7 separate regions of the Homo sapiens genome follow, and all the other regions are linked to region 6. The links are contacts of gene promoters, found by promoter capture Hi-C in blood cells and fetal thymus (Javierre and others, 2016). All regions are on one chromosome and are shown on one strand. Each heading gives the region's core, a stretch centred on a gene start or on the middle of the fragment in contact. The rest is flanking DNA. Distances are from core to core; before and after follow the strand shown. Region 1 overlaps SDC4 (syndecan 4). Region 2 overlaps RBPJL (recombination signal binding protein for immunoglobulin kappa J region like). Region 3 overlaps TP53TG5 (TP53 target 5). Region 4 overlaps LOC105372630 (a long non-coding RNA gene). Region 5 holds the start of SDC4 (syndecan 4). Region 6 holds the start of WFDC3 (WAP four-disulfide core domain 3). Region 7 has its middle 13 kb from the start of WFDC2.

The links. The method cuts DNA at HindIII sites, captures the fragments that hold promoters and counts their contacts. A CHiCAGO score of 5 or more calls a contact.
Region 1: a contact is called between a fragment that was not itself captured here and the fragment with the promoter of WFDC3 in region 6, in 11 of 17 cell types (monocytes, total CD4 T cells, M0 macrophages and 8 more). The highest score is 7.8, in monocytes.
Region 2: a contact is called between a fragment that was not itself captured here and the fragment with the promoter of WFDC3 in region 6, in 9 of 17 cell types (erythroblasts, activated CD4 T cells, monocytes and 6 more). The highest score is 9.1, in erythroblasts.
Region 3: a fragment that was not itself captured here is called in contact with the fragment with the promoter of WFDC3 in region 6 in 13 of 17 cell types (M1 macrophages, M2 macrophages, naive CD8 T cells and 10 more); the score reaches 11.2 in M1 macrophages.
Region 4: a fragment that was not itself captured here is called in contact with the fragment with the promoter of WFDC3 in region 6 in 2 of 17 cell types (monocytes and activated CD4 T cells); the score reaches 6.1 in monocytes.
Region 5: a contact is called between the fragment with the promoter of SDC4 here and the fragment with the promoter of WFDC3 in region 6, in 16 of 17 cell types (M2 macrophages, erythroblasts, M0 macrophages and 13 more). The highest score is 18.7, in M2 macrophages.
Region 7: a fragment that was not itself captured here is called in contact with the fragment with the promoter of WFDC3 in region 6 in 3 of 17 cell types (M0 macrophages, M1 macrophages and endothelial precursors); the score reaches 5.5 in M0 macrophages.

Annotation. Positions count from the first base shown.
Region 1 is chr20:45,326,875-45,329,574 of GRCh38, reverse strand. It overlaps SDC4 (syndecan 4), which reads left to right. Exons shown (of 5, transcript NM_002999.4): 5 at 2,160-2,700. The coding sequence ends at 2,311. Among named protein-coding and RNA genes, the nearest start is that of MATN4, 20 kb to the right of the region's middle. The HindIII fragment of the contact is 1,892 bases long and covers 424-2,315 here.
Region 2 is chr20:45,309,207-45,311,906 of GRCh38, reverse strand. RBPJL (recombination signal binding protein for immunoglobulin kappa J region like) reads right to left here. Exons shown (of 12, transcript NM_014276.4): 3 at 2,215-2,340; 4 at 248-318; 5 at 1-68. Among named protein-coding and RNA genes, the nearest start is that of MATN4, 2.3 kb to the right of the region's middle. RefSeq lists a silencer at 235-284. The HindIII fragment of the contact is 2,617 bases long and covers 130-2,700 here.
Region 3 is chr20:45,373,302-45,376,001 of GRCh38, reverse strand. It overlaps TP53TG5 (TP53 target 5), which reads left to right. Exons shown (of 5, transcript NM_014477.3): 4 at 450-963; 5 at 1,991-2,700. The coding sequence ends at 2,095. The region is part of intron 3 of SYS1-DBNDD2 (SYS1-DBNDD2 readthrough (NMD candidate)); the gene reads right to left. It also overlaps a transcript of SYS1 not described here. Among named protein-coding and RNA genes, the nearest start is that of TP53TG5, 3.7 kb to the left of the region's middle. RefSeq lists an enhancer at 2,600-2,659. The HindIII fragment of the contact is 5,473 bases long and covers 1-2,700 here.
Region 4 is chr20:45,289,756-45,292,455 of GRCh38, reverse strand. LOC105372630 (a long non-coding RNA gene) reads right to left here. Exons shown (of 3, transcript XR_936763.3): 3 at 2,104-2,380. Among named protein-coding and RNA genes, the nearest start is that of RBPJL, 16 kb to the left of the region's middle. The HindIII fragment of the contact is 879 bases long and covers 1,001-1,879 here.
Region 5 is chr20:45,347,058-45,349,757 of GRCh38, reverse strand. SDC4 (syndecan 4) reads left to right here and starts at 1,334. Exons shown (of 5, transcript NM_002999.4): 1 at 1,334-1,433. The coding sequence starts at 1,374. The HindIII fragment of the contact is 6,082 bases long and covers 1-2,700 here.
Region 6 is chr20:45,790,447-45,793,146 of GRCh38, reverse strand. WFDC3 (WAP four-disulfide core domain 3) reads left to right here and starts at 1,264. Exons shown (of 7, transcript NM_080614.2): 1 at 1,264-1,315. DNTTIP1 (deoxynucleotidyltransferase terminal interacting protein 1) reads right to left here and starts at 1,193. Exons shown (of 13, transcript NM_052951.3): 1 at 1,038-1,193; 2 at 400-470. The coding sequence starts at 1,142. RefSeq lists silencers at 491-630, 841-1,110. The HindIII fragment of the contact is 10,060 bases long and covers 1-2,700 here.
Region 7 is chr20:45,455,461-45,458,160 of GRCh38, reverse strand. No RefSeq gene overlaps it. Among named protein-coding and RNA genes, the nearest start is that of WFDC2, 13 kb to the left of the region's middle. The HindIII fragment of the contact is 2,305 bases long and covers 280-2,584 here.

The DNA.
Region 1 (2,700 bases), core at 120-2,619, 460 kb after region 6:
TCCAGGACAGATGGAAGGTCTCACCTGCCTCTTGTAAAGAGGGTTCCTGGGAGCACAGCCCCTGATGACTGGGCCCACCTCAGCCCTGACCCTGGCTTCCTGGTATCTGAGCCAAAGTTCTTTTTACTTTTCTTTCAGAAGTAAAAAGATTTGCATAAGACTTTGGATTTGCATAAGGTTTTGCTCTAATTAACTAAAGGTGCTATTGCTTCTAAAGAAAAATTTGAAAACCACTGATTAATCTAAGCACCTGCTTCTTATACATGGGGAGACTGAGGCCCAGGCTTTAGGCCACATAGTAAGAAAAGAACTGAAGCCAGGTTATCTCTTTAATCTTCCATTTGAGAATTATACAAGCCTAAGAGCCTCATGTGAAAAGTTATATTGTTAGCTGGTGTGGTGGAATCCCCCATTCCAGAAGCTTTAATCAGCACCCAGGAGCCTTATTAAATGCTTGCTGTATGCTGTATGATTCCTGTGCCCCTGATTGAGTCCGTACAACACAAAACTCAGTCTAAAGAACTTATCCGAAGTCACAAAGCTGGAAGTGGCAGACCTGGCATTTGGACTGAGGACCACAGTCAGCTTCTGAGCCTGTGCTTGAAACTTGACCCTGTGGGGCATCCCAGCGCAGACCCAGGGCCTCGTGGAGGAACTGGGGTCATCAGAGGGAAAGGTGATAGAGACAAGAATGGGGTTGATGCCTGATATTCCATGTGCTTGCTCTGGCACCTCCTGGGGGTACTTTTTTGTTGCTTTTTCATAGGATTTTACCCAAGAAAGAACCTTGCTTGACTCCTCTGTGCCACTCTGTCCCCATTGTGTACATAGATTTGTAGTGTGTGCAGGGATGGAAAATTAATCTTCTTAGCCCGAGTAAGACCGAATTAGGGAACTCAATCTGCCACAGAAGGGATTCTATGAAGCATCCCTGCCCCTAGCAAACAGGAATGAGTCATTCAGGCCACCTGGCAGAGTGGACAGGCCAGACCCACTCACTGTTAGAAGCCCATCTCTGCCCAACACTAGGCAGGTTCTCCTCTCGGAGCCTGAAAGTATCATTTATTAAGCACCTCCTGTTGTGCACACCTGATTCAGGGGGTTCGGGACACAGATATAAACCTTAAACCCTTACAGTTAATGAATCTTGAGAATATGCTATGCACTAGGCATTGTTCTAAGCACTTTGAGTGGATTAATTTATTTAATCCTTAGGACAAATGTATGAGAAAGGTATGGCTCTTCCCATTTTGCGGTAGGGAGATGAAGGAAACTTGCCCCAAATCACACAGCCAGGAAGTAGGAGAGGTAGGAGTGGAAACCAGGCCTTAGCTACTGAGTTCTGTATGTAATTGTAACATAAGAGTTTGGAATTAGTATGTTCTGCATGTGTGCACTTTGAATGTACATACCTGTCTATGAAGTGTAGGCTATATAGGTAAATATGCACACAGGGAGAGCTAGAGAGTGCCCTGTGCTAAGGACTGCAGGATAAATATGTCTACAGGGATTTCCATAGCCTACGGTTTTCTCCTGTTCCTGGTTCAGTTAGTGCTAGACTGTTGCAGGGGAGTCCGCGTGGTGTTTGGAAAGAGCCTAGGCTTTAGATTCAGGCAGATGTGGGTTAAAATAGTGGCCTTGGCCGAGTGCGGTGGCTCACGCCTGTAATCCCAGCACTTTGGGAGGCCGAGATGGGCAAGGTCAGGAGTTCAAGACCAGCCTGGCCAACATAGTGAAACCCTATCTCTACTAAAAATACAAAAATTAGCCGGGCATGGTGGCACGTGCCTATAATCCCAGCTACTCAGGAGGCTGAGGCAGGAGAATTGCTTGAACCTGGGAGGTGGAGGTTGCAGTAAGCCGAGATCACGCCACTGCACTCAGCTCGGGCAACAGAGTGAGACTTCGTCTCAAAAAGAAAAAGGAGTGGCCTTACCACTAGCCCTGTGGTCTTCAGTGACTTAAAATGCCAACGACCCACTTCTTATAACTGGGGTCATGAGGTCAACTTAAATAAGGCATCAGCTTGCCTGGCACAGGCAGTGGTGATGGTGAGGATGTCTGGTTGTAAGAGAACTGACAGTGGGGGAAAGAGGGGTTCATCCTTAGGTCCTGATGAGGAGCTCTCACCCCCGCCTCTTCTCTCTCCTCCTCTCCAGCTCTGATTGTGGGTGGCATCGTGGGCATCCTCTTTGCCGTCTTCCTGATCCTACTGCTCATGTACCGTATGAAGAAGAAGGATGAAGGCAGCTATGACCTGGGCAAGAAACCCATCTACAAGAAAGCCCCCACCAATGAGTTCTACGCGTGAAGCTTGCTTGTGGGCACTGGCTTGGACTTTAGCGGGGAGGGAAGCCAGGGGATTTTGAAGGGTGGACATTAGGGTAGGGTGAGGTCAACCTAATACTGACTTGTCAGTATCTCCAGCTCTGATTACCTTTGAAGTGTTCAGAAGAGACATTGTCTTCTACTGTTCTGCCAGGTTCTTCTTGAGCTTTGGGCCTCAGTTGCCCTGGCAGAAAAATGGATTCAACTTGGCCTTTCTGAAGGCAAGACTGGGATTGGATCACTTCTTAAACTTCCAGTTAAGAATCTAGGTCCGCCCTCAAGCCCATACTGACCATGCCTCATCCAGAGCTCCTCTGAAGCCAGGGGGCTAACGGATGTTGTGTGGAGTCCTGGCTGGAGGTCCTCCCCCAG
Region 2 (2,700 bases), core at 189-2,688, 480 kb after region 6:
GCTGCCGGACGCGCTGTCCAGTCCCATGTAACCGCAGACCGTGGGCCCCGTTTCCCCCGCCTGGTGAGCTGGAAAGGGACGCGAACTGGCTCTGCAAGGACTCGGGAGGACGCAGGTGCCAGGCAAGCTTAGCGCTCGCCGCCAGAGGGCGCGGGGAGACTGCGCCTGCGAACCGCCCCGTCTCGGGCCCAATCTCGTGGTCCTCCCTACAGAGCAGGCGGCCGGCAGCCCTTGATTCCGCCCTCACCTTGATCCTGCCCTGGCTTCACCCTCCAGCCAGGCCCCGAGAGGTAGACACAGGGCGGGGGGCAGAAGAACCTGCGGAGATAAGTGAGTGTTGGAGTCGTGCATCCATCTCCACTTGGCTCTCCTGTAAGCACGGCAAGGTAGTAGCATAAACCCAGCAGAACCTTCGTTTCCTCCTCCCGCTCCCCGCAACGCTTTTTCACGACTGTAAACCCCATTCATAGCCAAACCTTATTGTTTTTACACCCCTCATTCAACTCATCAGAAGGTCCTGTCCACTCCACCTTCAAAATATAATATATCCAGAATCCACTGGCTTTTTACCACCTCGCCCTTCATCCCAGCCGCCATTACTTTTTGCCTGGACCACAGCATCAGCCTTCAAACTGGTCTATTTCCAGAAAGTTCTGTTTCTATCTCCTTCCCATTTCGCACAGCAGCCAGAGTGCTCCTTCCTTCCTTCCTTCCTCTCTCTTTCTTTCTTTTTTTCTTTCATTCCTTCCTTCCTGTTTCTTTCTTTTTCTTTTTCTTTTTTTTTTTTTTTGAGGCAGGGTCTTGCTCTGTTGCCCAGGCTGGAATGCAGTAACTTGATCTCGGCTGTCTGGGCTCACTGCAACTTCTGCCTCCCCAACTGATCCTCCCACCTCGGCCTCCTGAGTAGGTGAGACTACAGACACAAGCCACCACACCCATCTAATTTTTGTGTTTTTTGTACAGACATGGTTTTGTCATGTTGCCCATGCAGGTCTGGAACTTCTGGGCTCAAGCAATCTGCCCACCTGGGTCTGCCGAAGTGCTGGGATTACAGGGATGAGCCACCAGGCTGGCCAGAGTGTTTTGTTAAAAACATGAGTCAAATCATGTTAACTCCTTAAAATCCTCCACTGGTTTAAAATTCAAAGTCCTCCTGAGATCTGACCCCTGCTTACCTCTCTGACTTGTTTCCTACAACTCCTCCCTCTGATTTCAGCCACTGTCATTTCTTTTGTACCTCAAACAGGCCTAATTGGTACAGCCTCAAGGTCTTCCCATTTTCTGTTGCCCTTTTTTTTTTTGAGACTGAGTCTTGCTCTGTCGCCAGGCTGGAGTGCAGTGGCATGATCTCGGCTCACTGCAACCTCCGCCTCCCGGGTTCAACCAATTATCCTGCCTCAGCCTCCTGAGCAGCTGGGATTACAGGTGCCCGCCACCATGCCCAGCTAATTTTGTATTTTTTGGTAGAGAGGGGGTTTCACTGTATTGGCCAGGCTGGTCTCGAACTCCTGACCTCAGGTGATCCGCCCGCCTCGGCCTCCCAAAGTGCTGGGATTACAGGTGTGAGCCATCGCGCCCGGCCCTTCTGTTCCTTCTAATTGTAGCACGCTTTCCCCAGATATTCTCCTGTCTGGCTCCATTTCAGCATTCAAGTTTCAGTTCCAATGTTACCTCCCAAAAGGTCTCTCAACCTCCTTGACCTTTCTAGCTAATGTCCCCCCTGCCTTCAGTTTCCGTCAAATGGCCTCGTTCAGTTTTCCTTCTAGTGCTCATCATAATCTGCAAGTATCTTGTTTCCTGACTTGTGGGGAGTTTACTGTCTGTCTCTTCCACACTTGAGTGAGAGTGTGGGCTACAGAGCAGGGGCTGTTTCTGTCTTGTTCAGCTGTATGCCCAGTGCCCAGCAGTACCCACAGAGCCTGGTGCATACATGACAAACACTCAGTAAGTAGTTGTTGAATGAATGAATAAGTGAATCAATGGGAGAATGAGTGAATGAATGGAGACAGGAGATTCACAGGGAATCTCCTGCTGTAGAACTATAGACCAAAGTGGGGGCTAATGGTGGCTGAGGGTCAAGGCCCTGGTCGACCAATAGCTGAGATCTCAGCCCTGAGGCCTGCTCTGCGTCTAAAAGAGGCCCAATGGGTGGATGGAGGAGGTGCATAGGGCTGACAGTTGCAGAGACCTGGGAGGGGCTGCGGAGGCACCTACCGCTTCTCATTTCCGTATGATTTCTGGGCCACCTTGGCATGCAGGATCCGCACAGTCTGTTCACACTGTTGCTGCAGGCACCTGCGCACGCCTCCCCTCAGAATGGTGGTGTGCTCTGGGGATGACCTGGGAGTAGGGCAGGCAGGTCGACCAGCCACAGGAGGGAGAAGGGTCAAGGTGGCACAGGGTCCAAGCACTCAGGTTGAGTAAAATGAAGTGAGCAGGGGGTTAGAGTGAGTGGGAGGGTGGGGCTGCTCTATATCCTGCCCCTGTGGGGTCAGGAAGAGGAAGCATTAGGTAAGGAGGAGACTTGGCTGCAAATTGTAGGCTAAATATTTAGGCTGCAAGGTGCTCAACGAAGCCTGCATGGAACCCATGGGACCACCCAGGTTCCACTCTGTGGGTCTGGCATCATGCCCATTGGAGCCCAGGGCCATAGGGACACGTGGCTGTGACACAAAGGCTGCACTTATACTGGCCTTGGGA
Region 3 (2,700 bases), core at 117-2,616, 420 kb after region 6:
AAATATCTATTTCCAAGCCCCAATTGTGTTGTTATGAGCTGGGGAGAGGTATCCTGCCCCAGTGGGTCAGGGGAGGTGACATTGAGACACCTCCTCAGAACCCTAAGGTTCTTGGAGCACAATTTAGAAAAACTACTGGACTGTTCACCCTCCCAGCTGAAGTCCAGAGAGACAGAACCCTAATCTAGTGGCAGATGATGTAGACAATATTCATTCTTAGGGGCCTTAACTACTAGTCATGGCTTTCACCTTCCCAATCTCTCACATCCCTCTGCTAGTGCTCATCACACCTCCTCACACCAGCACAAGGCCTCTGGGCAGTAGAGAAGTTTCTTTGCAGGCCCCTCTAGCCTTTCTTAACAGGCTCCCCTGAGCTGGCTACATAGCAACTGTCTCGGGAACCAGGGCCTCGGTCCTGCTGTGCTGACTGCCTTTCCTCTCCCTGCCAGGGAAAACAGTGCCTGCAATAAAACAAAACAAAATAATGAAGAGTTCCAGGAGATCGGGTGCTCCGAGAAGGAACTCAAGTCCAAGAAATTAGAGTCCACAGGGGACCCTAAGAAAAAAGAGTACAAGGAGTGGAAGTCCCAGGTGCAGTCAGGGATGAGGAACAAGGAGAAAACGTCATTGGCGGCAATGCCACGGAAAGAAAAGCATATAGAGCCTGAGGTTCCAAGGACATCGAGGGATGATAGCTTGAACCCTGGAGTCCAGGGGAGGCAACCACTCACCGAGGGCCCCCGAGTCATCTTCATTAAGCCCTACCGCAATAGAACTCCCATGGGGCACATGAAGCAGCTGGATGTAGCCGACCAGTGGATCTGGTTTGAGGGGCTGCCCACACGAATCCACCTCCCGGCGCCCAGGGTGATGTGCAGATCCTCCACCCTGCGTTGGGTCAAGCGCCGCTGCACCCGCTTCTGCTCCGCATCACTTGAAATGCCTATGTGGCATCCATACAAGGTGGGTGTGACAACAACACTGCCAGGCTAGGTGAGATGCAAGCCCCAAGCCAGGCCCAGAGCTGGGCCCCAGAGTCAGGGTTCAGGATCTGGAGTCTTGAGTGGTGTGTGGCTGGTAGTGCTGGGAGGCTCCGCCTTCATGTCCAGAGAGGGGGAAGCCTTAGACCAACATCATACAGAAGGGTAGTGACTAGGTTGAGGCGTCTCAGGATACAGCTAGGAGATGTGTGGAAGGAGGGGCACTGAAGTGAGCCATCTCACTGCCTGAAGGCCTTAGCAGAGGTGGAAACTGCTGTGGCTCTGAATCTCACAGTCAGAGGCCTACATAAGTGGGTTTAAGGATTTCCAAATGTGGGAGGGGGGAGATGGTCAAGTAGGGCTTTGCTGCATCCCATTCCCTCTAAGATCAATTCAACTCTCTATTTATGTTTGATTGATTCATGCCTCAAATAAGATTTACTCTGAACAGGCTAGGCATGGTGGCTCACGCCTGTAATCCCAGCACCTTGGGAGGTCGAGGCAGGAAGACTGCTTGAGGCCAGGAGTTCAAGACCATCCTGGGCAACATAATGAGACACTGTCTCTACAAAAAATTTAAAAATTAGCCAGATGTGGTGCCTTGCGCTTGTAGTATCAGCTACTCAGGAGGCTGAGGTCGGAGGATCGCTTAAGCCCAGGAGTCGAGGCTGCAGTGAGCTGTGACTTCGCCACTGCACTCCAGCCTGGGCAAGAGAGCAAGACCCTGTCTTAAAAAAAAAGAAAGGAAAAAAAGATTTACTCTGAGCAGAAAGTTCCTTAGCAAAAAAAGAAGAAAATACCGCAGCCCTTTCGTGGGAGAATGAAAGTCCCACGAAAGGAAGGGGGTGAGTGCCCACCGGGTCTAGCTTAAAGGGAGGCTTTTCCTTTTTAGCAAAGGCATTTCCAACCTACCAGACACCACAGCACCCTTGTCCCTGCGCCCGCTCCCCAAACGACCAGCGCCCCCTGGGGACAGTCTTAGCGCCTAACACCGAGGTTTCTGCTGGCAGGTTGATGTGACCTGGACGAGAGCCAGAGGTGCGAGCAGAGGGTGGAGATCGCGCCATCAGCTGAAGGGGAGGAATGGGTGGCGAAATTCACGAGTCTACAAATAAGATCTTCCATATGGCACCTAAGACGAATACTGCTTACTCTGCCTGTTTGTCTGGGGCTGGGAAGGATGAAGGAAAGAGGCCTTCGGTAGAGGGAGCCTGTGTCGCGACTTCAGGCTTCCCCCACCCCCACCCCGAGGCCCCTAAGGTCAGTCTAGAACCAAAGAAGCCAGCGAGCAGCACCCCTCCCCCACCTCCGCGAGCTAGTCTCCTGAGTGGCGCGCTCTGTGAAGTCAGGGCGCTCGTGTGCTTCCTGGGTGCAAAGTGCCTCACAATCGCCCCGCGAGCTCGCAAGAGGAAACCGCGGCGCGGAGGCAGCAAGTAACTTGCCCAGGCTCACTCAGCTAGAAAGTGGCAGGAGCAAGGGCTCCTGGTTGCTCCCCATTCCATTTTCCCAAGAAAGGGAAAAGGCGAAATGAGAGCCTGCTCAGAAGTCACGAGGCAGGCGGAATAGCCCCAGCACCCTGTAGGTCATGCGCGTGCATTGCGACCTGATTGTCAAAAATTGATTGTCAAAAACTGATTGCACTGTGGCTGGTGTCAAAAAGTGGATGTCAGCTGGGCCTCCAAATGTGTCCTGCCTTGGTCACAGATCACAGAAGGCACCG
Region 4 (2,700 bases), core at 191-2,690, 500 kb after region 6:
TGCTCTAATAAGTTACCACAAATTGAGTGGCTAGCAACACACATTTATTACCTTACAGTTTTTAGGTCAGAAGTCTAAGATGTGTTGGCAAGGCTTTATTCCTTCTAGAGGCTTTTGTTTCCTGGCCTTTTCCAGCTTCTAGAGGCTACCTGAATTCCTTGGGTCATGGCCCTACATCACTTCAGACTCAGTTTCCATCAGCACATCTCTTTCTCTGACTCTGACCTTCCCGTCTCTGTCTTATAAGGACCCTTCTGTTTATATTGGCATGACCTTGATAATCAAAGATAATCCCATCTCAAGCTATCTTTTTTTTTTTTTGAGATGGAGTTTTTGCTCTTGTTGCCCAGGCTGGAGTGCAATGGTGCGATCTCGGCTCACTGCAACCTCCGCCTCCTGGGTTCAAGCGATTCTCCTGCCTCAGCCTCCTGAGTAGCTGGGATTACAGGTGTATGCCACCACTCCCAGCTAATTTTTTGTATTTTTAGTAGAAACAGAGTTTCTCCATGTTGGTCAGGCTGGACTTGAACTTCCGACCTCAGGTGATCCGCCTGCCTCAGCCTCCCAAAGTGTTGGGATTACAGGCGTGAGCCACCGCGCCCAGCCTCAAGCTCTCTATCTTAACCACATCTGCAAAGTCCCTTTTGTCGTGTGAGGTGAAATCACAGGTGCCGGGGATTAAAATGTGTACATCTTTGTGGGGAAGGCCATTCTGCCTACCACATGGGGCTTGAAGCCAGGCTGACTGACTTCAGAGCAGCTGCTCTTAAGTACTCTGTGCCGGGCACCTTGCTAGGCTTGGTGAAGAGGGAGAAACTGATGATTGAGAAAAACTCTTGAGCTGAGGAAGCTCCGGGCTAGAAGGGCTGAGGTCCACCTGACTGTTGCAGAAAGAGGGAACTTCAGATGAGAGGAGGGAGAAATCCTGGAGAGGTGATCCTTAAACGGTGGCTGGAATTTCCGCAGGAGGCCATGGAAGACTTTACAGGTGAGTGAAGCTTGAACTATGCGTGGTCAGGAGGGACTGGAGTATGGGGGGATGGGAATGATCATCTTACCTGGCCATGAGGATCAGATGAGCTAAAGACCTATGGACTTGGCATGTGACCTCACCTTGCCTTACCATTCATTTTACAGTTGGGGAAACTGAGGCCTAGAGGCCAGAGTTGCCTGCCCAAGGTCACACAGAGAGAAAACATCAGTTGCACCAGGAAGAAGCCTAGTGGGGAGGTCAAACTGGAGCAGGGTAGTCAACTGATAGGGGGCACTGAGGGCAAAGGCCAGGCTCCTTCCTTCCTCTTCCCTGGAGTTGGCAGGCACTGGCTTCTCTGGGGTTTCTTTTCTCATGCTTTTTTCTCTTGCAATCTCCCTAATGGCCACTGGATGGCGCCGGGAGCACTGATTTGGAGCTGGGTCCTAGAGCCTTCGCAGGCCGTTGGCATCTGGCACTTGGGCTGCAGAGCCTGTCCTCCCTTAATTCCCCGACTCTGGCAGCCCCACCACCGAAGTCTACAAGCTGCTTCTGTTCCCATGCAGTGGCCCCATAGTCCTGGATTTGAAGACCAGCCCTGCTACTTACCAGGTGTGTGTTGGTGTTGACAGGTACTGGTTCCCTTTCTCACTTCTTGATTCCTTTCTCTCATTTCCCTTTCCTCCTACCAGCTTAACCCTGCTGGATACAGGGAATTCCTGTTCCCTAACCATGCCCCACATAAGGTCAGCTAGCGCTTGCTTCTTTGTTTATACCCCCATCTTACGTTATGGGATAGAAGACTTACAAAGGACCCGTGAATTCAGGAAAACAAACATCCATTAACTCAAGAACAGAAAGTGAGAACCCAAGTAACAGTGTGAGGAGAGTAACACTGCCAAGAAAGCTTAGATGGAGAAGGCACCGAGCCCGAACAAAGACCCCCGGGCCCGGGTCTTTTGGTACCCAGGCAAGCACGGGTTTATGTGGCTTTCAGAGCCTGTTAAGATCAGGAATAAAGCACGTAGATATTGGGGGAGTCCTGAGCCCAGGTGTGTGGAGAGAACTCAGCGCCCTCAGCCTTCTTGGTTCCCTGGAGAGTTTGAATCATTAAAAAACGACAATATCTTCCCTAGTGGTTAGCAGAGATGCCACTTCTGGAGCTGTTTCTTAGACTTAGTAACATGAACTAGGCATGGCCTTGGGTGGGAAAGGGCAGGGCAGGAAGGGCCTGTAACTTCAGCCAAGTGCTGGACTCGCTTTCTGAATTTCACCTCTGTGTTGTCTGGCTCTGTTTCTCCGTGGTTTTTGGCCTTTCTCTTCTTCTATTCTAGCTCACAGCTCTCTCCATTTCTGCAGCCGGCACAGCTGCTGTCTCTAAGGACTGTCTACTCTTCTGGTTCTTTGGACCTAGGATAGTGAAACAGGAGAGAAAACTATCAATTACCAAACACTGGCCTGCATGCTGGGGGCCAGGCTGTGCCTTTCATCTGTGTTGTCTCGTTGAAACCTCTCAACCTACAGGAGGGAAAACTGAACTTGAAAGAGGCCAGTTAGTTGCCCAAGGCCCAGAGCTTCCAAGTTAGGGTTTGAACCCAGGTGGTCTTGATCCCAGAGTAGGCCCATTTCACATTTCTACCCTTCAGTTATTAGGGACAAATTTGGACTTTTTCAAAGAAACCTTTTTCAGGAAGTTTATGGAGTAGACCAAAGCAAAGCCCGAGATACAG
Region 5 (2,700 bases), core at 85-2,584, 440 kb after region 6:
TTTGCATTTTTATTTTTTATTTTTTTGAGACGGAGTTTTGCTCTGTTGCCCAGGCTGGAGTGCAGTGGGGAGATCTCAGTTCACTGCAACCTCCGCCCCTCGGGTTCAAACGATTCTCCTGCCTCAGCCTCCAGAGCAGTTGGGATTACAGGCGCAGGCAACCATGCCTGGATAATTTTTGTATTTTGTAGAGACGGGGTTTCAGCATGTTGGCCAGGCTGGTCTCAAACTCCTGAGCTCAAGTGATCCGCCGCCTCAGCCTCCCAAAGTGCTGGGATTACAGGCATGACTCACTGCATCCGGCCTGCATTTTTATTATAAAATGTCATTTATTTATTTATTTATTTATTTATTTATTTATTTATTTATTTTTGAGACAGGGTCTCACTCGGTCACCCAGGCTGGAGTGCAGTGAGCGATCATGGCTCACTGCAACTTTCACCTCTCTGGCTCAAGCAGTCCTCCCACCTCAGCCTCCAGAGTAGCTGGGCCACAGGGGTGCACCACAATGCCTGGTTAATTTCTTTAAAAACTTTTTGTAGAGATGGGGGTCTCATTATGGTTGCCCAGGCTGGTCTCCAATTCCTGGGCTCAAGGGATCCTCCTATTCCTCGGCCTCCCAAAGTGCTGGGATTACAGGCGTGAGCCATAGAGCCCAGCCGATTTTTGCATGTTTAAATGGTTGGGAATAAAGTCAAAAGAATAATAATATTTCGTGACACATGAAAATTATATTAAATTCAAATGTCGGTGTCTATAAATAATGTTTTATTAGGACCTAGCTGCCCTCATTCCTTTAGTATTTATGGCTGCTTTTGAGCTACGACGCTCGAGTTTGAATAGTTGCCACAGGGATCGTATGGCCCGCAAAACCTAAAATATTTAGCCCTTTACAGAATAGTTTGCTGTCCCCTGTCTTAACACGGTTCACATCCCATTTGGGAAGTTCTGTGTCTTCAGAGGGGAGCACACCCGGTATGAAGGCTGGTCTAAACTCAACACCCTAGGGAAGTCCTTCCCGTCCCTGGGCCTTAGTTTCCCCAACTATAAAATGGGGTTAGCCGCAGTGATCTCTGGGGACCTGCCTGGCAGTGGGTCAAATAAATAAAGGGAGTTGGAGCTCCCGGAGGGTAGGACTAGGGGTTGAGTAGGAGCCGGCGGGCTCGGGCAGGGCGGGTCCCTTGGGGTTTCCAACTCCGCGGGCGGGCGCAGTGCCCCGCAGGCCTCGCTTCCACTGGGGAATTCCGGGCGGGGTGCGGGCGGCGGGGCGGGGGCGGGCCGGGGCGGGGCCGGTAGGCCGCCTATAAGATGGGTGGCGCGCCCGCCCGGGGCCACTCGCCGCAGCCTGCGCGCCTTCTCCAGTCCGCGGTGCCATGGCCCCCGCCCGTCTGTTCGCGCTGCTGCTGTTCTTCGTAGGCGGAGTCGCCGAGTCGGTGGGTGCTTGGAGGTTCCCGGGCTGGGGGCGAAGCGGGGGCGCAGGCCGGTGCCTCCTTTGTTCGTCGGAGCGTGGGATGGGGGGGGGCAGATCGGGGGTACGCTACCCCCAACCGGACACCGAGGCCCGGGAAACTTTGTTGGAAACTTTGCTCCGGGGTCACGGGCCAGCCTCCGGGATGGCTTCACGCGCCGTGCGCCCCTCGCCTGTTGCTCTTCCCGCCTCCCCGGGCCTCAGCCCCGCCGCGGGCTACGGGCTCGTTAGTGACTAAGCCGGTGTCAACTCTTCAACTCCCACACCCTCGTCCCTTCCCTGGTGACCCTGGGGCAGGCTTGGAGCGCTGAATCCCCTCCTCGCTCTCGGGGCGCCCAGAGCAGACAGCTTTAGGATCCGAGATGGCCCTGGGGGTCGGGGGGCTGCGTGTACTCGGAAGGGGGAGGGTTTTAGGGTTGTGCGAGGCCCTCTTTCACACACCAAGGAGAACTGAGCCCTAACCTCAGTTCTGGCCCCAGCTCTGTCATTGACTTGTGACTTAGGGCAAAGTCCTGCCCTTCTGAATCTCTTCCCAATACTGCACCAAGGGTCTGAGGGAATGGGGCAAGAGGGGACACTGCGTTAGGGTTTCTAGAAAGTTGGGGACTCTGCTCTTTTCGAGGACAGAGGAGAGGAATGGTTTAGACTCAACACTTAGCCAGGAGCTGAGCCTCTGCTTTCTGCAAGAAGTGTGTTCATTTTTTCTCAATTGCAGATAAGAAAATTGAAGCATCCACCTTGAGTGAGGTGAAGGGGGTAGGGGGGAGAGAAGGCCTCAATCAGCCCAGGGAAACCTTTCCTTCTCACTGTCCACTGGCCTCCGTCATAGCTGTCCCTGGGCCAGCAGAAGCTCTATCCATGCCCGCAGCCGGCTTAGGAGGAGGGGGGCAATCTCATCTGGGAAGTTGGGGGGCATGGGAATTACTGGTGAAGGCAATCTGTCCCCCACAGCCTGAGCTTTGTGCCCCCTTTGTGCCCTTTAGCCCCAGTTTTCAGAGCGAGTGAGTCCTTGCAGTTTAACCATTAATGTTAATTTCTTTGAAAGCCTTGGGGCTCCTGTTCCTCTGAATTTACTTAGCGGAAGGTTGATTCTGCCTGCAGGCTCTTCTTGAGGAATGAATGAGACCCTAGGCAATACTTCCAGCACAATTCCAGGCATGCCATGATGATTGCAAACGTGGAGCGCCTTTGTCGGGGGGCCAGACATTGCTCTAATAACTTTCTAATGGGTA
Region 6 (2,700 bases), core at 15-2,514:
CATACTATTAATCCCTCTTTATAGTTGAGAAAACGGGCTCATCAGAGTCTGTTGATGAGAACACAGTTGTCTGACTCCAGAGCCTGTTCTCTTAAACTCCATGCTAACTGACCTCTTTAGAGCCCTCAACCACAGAGCCAGTGAATGTGAGGGATCTTAGGTATTGTTTATTCCACAACCCATCTCCTGTGCCCTTCCCCATTTTGTACGTGAGTTCAGAGAAGGAAGTGACTTGACTAGTTCAAGATCACACAGAGTTACAGAATCGGAGTCTCCTCTTCCTCAGTCCTGTGCTCTTTCTACCGGCTGTAGATCTCCATAGCCTTGTGCACTGGGGATCCCAAATCTGCCATGCAAGCCAGTGGCTGGGATATAAGCCCCATGCAGGGCCAGCCTTACCTTGTTGTCATCTGTGAGCGGCGGCCCCTCCGCTGCACCTGCCGGTGCTTTATCATTATGTTCCAAGGGTTCTGTGGGGACCAACGGAACAAATGTCACTGCGGCCTGTGACACTGGGGTGGGGTGGAGGTGGAGGGTGGGTATGAAGTTAAACCTGGACATCCCTGCTTCTCAGATCCGTCACCATCTCTCCCGCCTTGGGGTGGGACGATAGTTGTAAGGCCTCCTCCACAAAAGAGGAACTGAGGAAGTTTCCTGCCTTAAAAGTCCCGACCCTGCCTTCTGGCACGGCAGGAGGAAGGGAAGCAGTATTTACCGAGGGTCAACTCTGTGTCAGGTGATGTCCGGGGCGTTGTACCCGCCTTTATCTTCCCATCCCACAACAAGTTTTATGAGACAGGTACTAATCATTTCCATTTTATAGAAGAGGATCCTGGGACTCAGGGGGTTGACAGAGATGGCCCACGTCACCTAGCTAGGAGGGCGGCACCAGAATTTAAATCCAGGTCGTCGGGCTGCGAAAACGCCAACCCCCTCTGCAGCTCCAGCCTCCGCGTTCTCTCGCCCGCGGGCCAGGGTCCCAGGAGCCCCGAGGCCGTGCCCGGCCTGAGCCCAGACCTCACCGGGGGCGCCCTCACCGTAAGAACCAGCTGCCCCGCTGCGCCCGCATCCCCCAGCTCCAAGCCGCCCCTCTCGGCCCCGCTAGGTCCCCGCGGCTGCTCGGCGTCGCCAGTGGCTCCCATGGCGCCCCCGGCCCCCACAACTCCGCTGGACTCTGTCACCGGCCGGAAAGTGGCGCCGTGACGTCACTGGAGCGCGCTGCTCGTCCGCCCGGAAGCGCGACGCTGGAGCTGCGGGGTTACCATGGGAACCGAACCGCCGCGCCTCGCCCAGGACAGTTACACTTAGAGGCCTTGTAGGTGGAGGTCGTTGGGGCTTCCTCTCGGGAGGGCTGCGCCTCGATTGTGCAGTGTGGGTGTTCAGTGGCGGTTCAGTCAAGGGATGTTTCCCGCTGGGCCAAGGCCTGGGGATGACTGCGGGGTAGGAGGAAGGGACCAGTTTTCTGTAGGCTGGGGTTGGGGAGCAGAGGGAAGCGTTTGGTACAGCGGCGCCTGCAGTTCAGTTTTTGAAAACTAGATTTTAATATGCTCGGCCAGGGGCGGTGGCTCACGCCTGTAATCCCAGCACTTTGGGAGGCCGAGGCGGGAGGATCACTTGCCATCAGGAGTTCGAGACCAGCCTGGCCAACATGGCGAAACCCCGTCTCTACTAAAAATATAAAAATTAGCCGGGCGTGGTGGTGGGCACCTGTAATCCCAGCTACTCGGGAGGCTGAGGCAGGAGAGTCTCTTGAACCCAGGAGGCGGAGGTTGCAGTGAGCCGAGATCACGCCACTGCACTCCAGCCTGGGCGACAGAGGGAGACTGTCTCAAAAAAAAAAAAAAAAAAAGCACATTAGGCACATGTTAGGTCATCATCAAATGTTAATTATGCCGAGATCGCGCCACTGCATTCCAGCCTGGGGGACAGAGGGAGACTCTGTCTCAAAAAAAAAAAAAAAAAAAAAAAAAAAAGCATATTAGGCACATATGAGGTCATCATCAAATGTTAATTATCTCCATGAGCCAACATCAGCCTTCTAACCATAAGGGCGACTTCCTGGCTCCAAACTTTTTGATCCTATTAAGGAGGTTTTACCTTGTACCTGCCCATAGGACTAAGCAGTGCCAGTGGACACCATTAGGTATCACAGCTAACCAAAGGCATGACCAGGACAGATAAAGAAAAAAAGAAATGGAGAAAAAAGAAATAAAGGAGGTATATGTGGGCAGACTATTTGAGTCATACATAGCAACTTCTCTTGGGTTCTGCCAGCTAGACTTCATACAGTCCAAGAATGGCCTGTGTGGGTTAGAGGGACAAAGATGTAGGTGTTTGGTGCTTTTCATTAGTTCTTAACAAACTCAACTACTGCTTTTCTGTAGGTTTTTGATAGTTTCTTTTCTCTCTTTTTTTTTTTTTTGAGACAGAGTCTCACTCTGTTACCCAAGCTGGAGTGCAGTGGCATGATCTCCACTCACTGCAACCTCTGCCTCCTGGGTTCAAGCTATTCTCCTGCCTCAGCCTCCCACGTAGCTGGGATTACAGGCATGCACCAGCATGCCCAGCTGATTTTTGTATTTTTAGTAGAGACAGGGTTTCGCCATGTTGGCCAGGCTGGTCTCAAACTCCTGACCTCAGGTGATCTGCCCGCCTTGGCCTATTTGATAGTTTCTGAGTGGTCTGTTCCATTCTGTATTT
Region 7 (2,700 bases), core at 183-2,682, 340 kb after region 6:
CACACCACCACACCTGGCTAATTTTTGTAGTTTTTTAGTAGAGATGGGGTTTCACCATATTGATCAGGCTGGTCTCGAACTCTTGACCTTAGGTGATCCGCCCGGCTTGACCTCCCAAAGTTCTGGGATTACAGATATGAGCCACCGTGCCCAGCCACAACCTCACACCTCTTTATAGGTGAAGAAACCAAAGTTGGCAGAGAAAGCAATTGGCTTGAGTCTTGCAGGCATGACCAGCAAAGCCAGGAATTACACTCTAGTCCTTCTGACACCAAAGCTTGTGCTATTAACTCTCTGTTATCCATAACACCATCTCCCTAAGAAGGAGAAGCAATGCTAGAATTCTCCATTTCCCAGATGCTTCTAGTTTTTGAAGGAAGCCGTATGTAGTGTCGTCTCAACAGGTATGGGGAAAAGTCCAGGAATGAGAACCTGGATTTAAACCTGAATATCGAATATTGATCGGATTAACATTATAGTATAACGCCACTGGGAGGATGAGTCATAGAAAGGGTTTGTAAAAGTCATGGAGGCAGGTGGAAAAGAAAGCCAAGTCCTCGTTTTCCATAGTGGTAAGTCTTAAATCTGAAAAATCAAATAGTAACAATTTAGGTAACACACCTAAATTTACACACAAGGAAGAAAGTTCCAAAAGAATCAGCCAAGGGGCCGAGGTGGAGGATCGCTTGAGTCCAGGAGTTCGAGACCAGCCTGGGCAACATAACTTGTCTCTCCAAAAAGTTTTTAAAAATTAGCCAGGCATGGTAGTATGTGCCAGTAGTTTCAGCTACTCAGGAGGCTGAGGTGGGAGGATGCTTGAGCCCAGAAGGTCGAGGCTGCAGTGAACTATGATCATGCTACTGCGCTCCAGCCTGAGTGATGGAACGAGACTCTTGACTCAAAAAAAAAAAAAAAAAAAAAAAAAGTCCATGATGTAAAGTAACTAAAAAAAAGAAAAGAAAAGAAAAGAAAGAAACCCCTTCTCCATGCTGCCCTCTCAAAAAACAAAAACTTCTTCGCCAGGCTTTCTCTAATGTCATACTTCATGCATTCCTGAGAAGTGGGCAGAGCAGATTTTGTCATCCCCACCTTACAGAGGAGAAAACAGTGGCTGAATTGGCATCCCAAGTTCAGGCAGCATAGCACAGGACCTGCAGGGACATTCCCAGCAAGTACTAGAAGAATTCGTGTGAAATGCTTCATAAATGCTTCTAAGGAGCATAACTGTAAAACAGATCCTTGTGGCAGTGTTTATTGGCTGCATTACATGATTACATGAGTGTTAAAAGGGATGCTTGAATTATCACACGTGGCGCCACCTTCTGTTGTAAACGAGAACCTGAGGGACAGGTGACACTCTCCAGGATCACGCGGTAAGGCAAGAGCAGAACTGCCCTTTTCCTATCATTGTGATTCTATATACAACCCCTGGGCCATGTCAGCCACTCCTGCTGTACCATTTTCCAACTGGGTGAAAAACCTCAGATCTCTATCCATTCCAGACCTCTCTCCATTGTTGGTGTGTTATGTTCTCTTCATGGCAGCTGGTGACCTTTTAAAAATTAAATCAGATCACGTTACTTTCGTGTTCCAAGCCCTTCTGTGGTTTCCACTGTACATGGAATTACAATCTAAATACCTTGTCATGGCTGTGATCAAGCCCCTGCCTATCTTTTTCTGCCATGCAGGAAGAGTTTGTTCCTGCCTTAGGACTTTTGCATTCATTCTTTCTTCTGCATCCACCAGAGGCCTACACGGCTCCTTCCTTCACTCCACTCAGAACCATCCTGCCTAAACTGGCCCCTCTTCACCTTGTATTCTGAGTTATTTTCTTTTTTTTTTTTATTATTATACTTTAAGTTCTAAGGTACGTGTGCACAACGTGCAGGCTCATTACGTAGCTATACATGTGCCCTGCTGGCCCACTACACCCATCAACCCGTCATTTACATTAGGTATTTTTCCCAGGGCTATCCCTCCCTCCCTGAGTTCTTTTCTTCATAGCAGTTATCACCACCTGAAACTTATCTCACTCAATTATTATTCTCTCCAGCTGAAATGTCAGCTCCAGGAGGGTGGGGAGCTTGTGTGCTGCCTTCACTCTTGTGACCCAGCACCTAGAACAGTGCCCAGCACATACAGTCGGCACTCAATCATAGCATGGCTATTGAGTCCTTCCTGAGTGCAGGCACTATTCCAAAGTCTATACGTGTATTAACCTCCCCTCCCTCAGTAACAACCAAAGAGGCAGGAGCTGTTATTACCAACCCCATTTTACAGATGCATCAATAATGACAGAGAAGTGAAGTGACTTGCGCACACAACCAGTAAATTGGCAGAGTCAGATTTGAATCCATGGAGTCTGGTCTGCACTTTCAATCACCGAATACCCTTTCTAAGAAACGTGTGCTGAACGAGTGCATGGATAAATCAGTGTCTACTCAACATCTTTGCCTAGATATCCCGCAGAGATGGGGTTTTGCTATGTTGGTCACGCTGGTCTGGAACTCCTGGCCTCAAGGGATCCACCCGCCTTGGCCTCCCAAAGTGCTGGGATTACAGGCATGAGCCACCGCATCAAGCTTTTTCCCCTATTTTACGGAGAAGGAAACTGGCTCAGAAAAGTGAAGTGACTTGCTTATGGTCACACAGTAATATCTACTAAACAGTCACATGGTAATAGCTACTAAAGCCGAACCC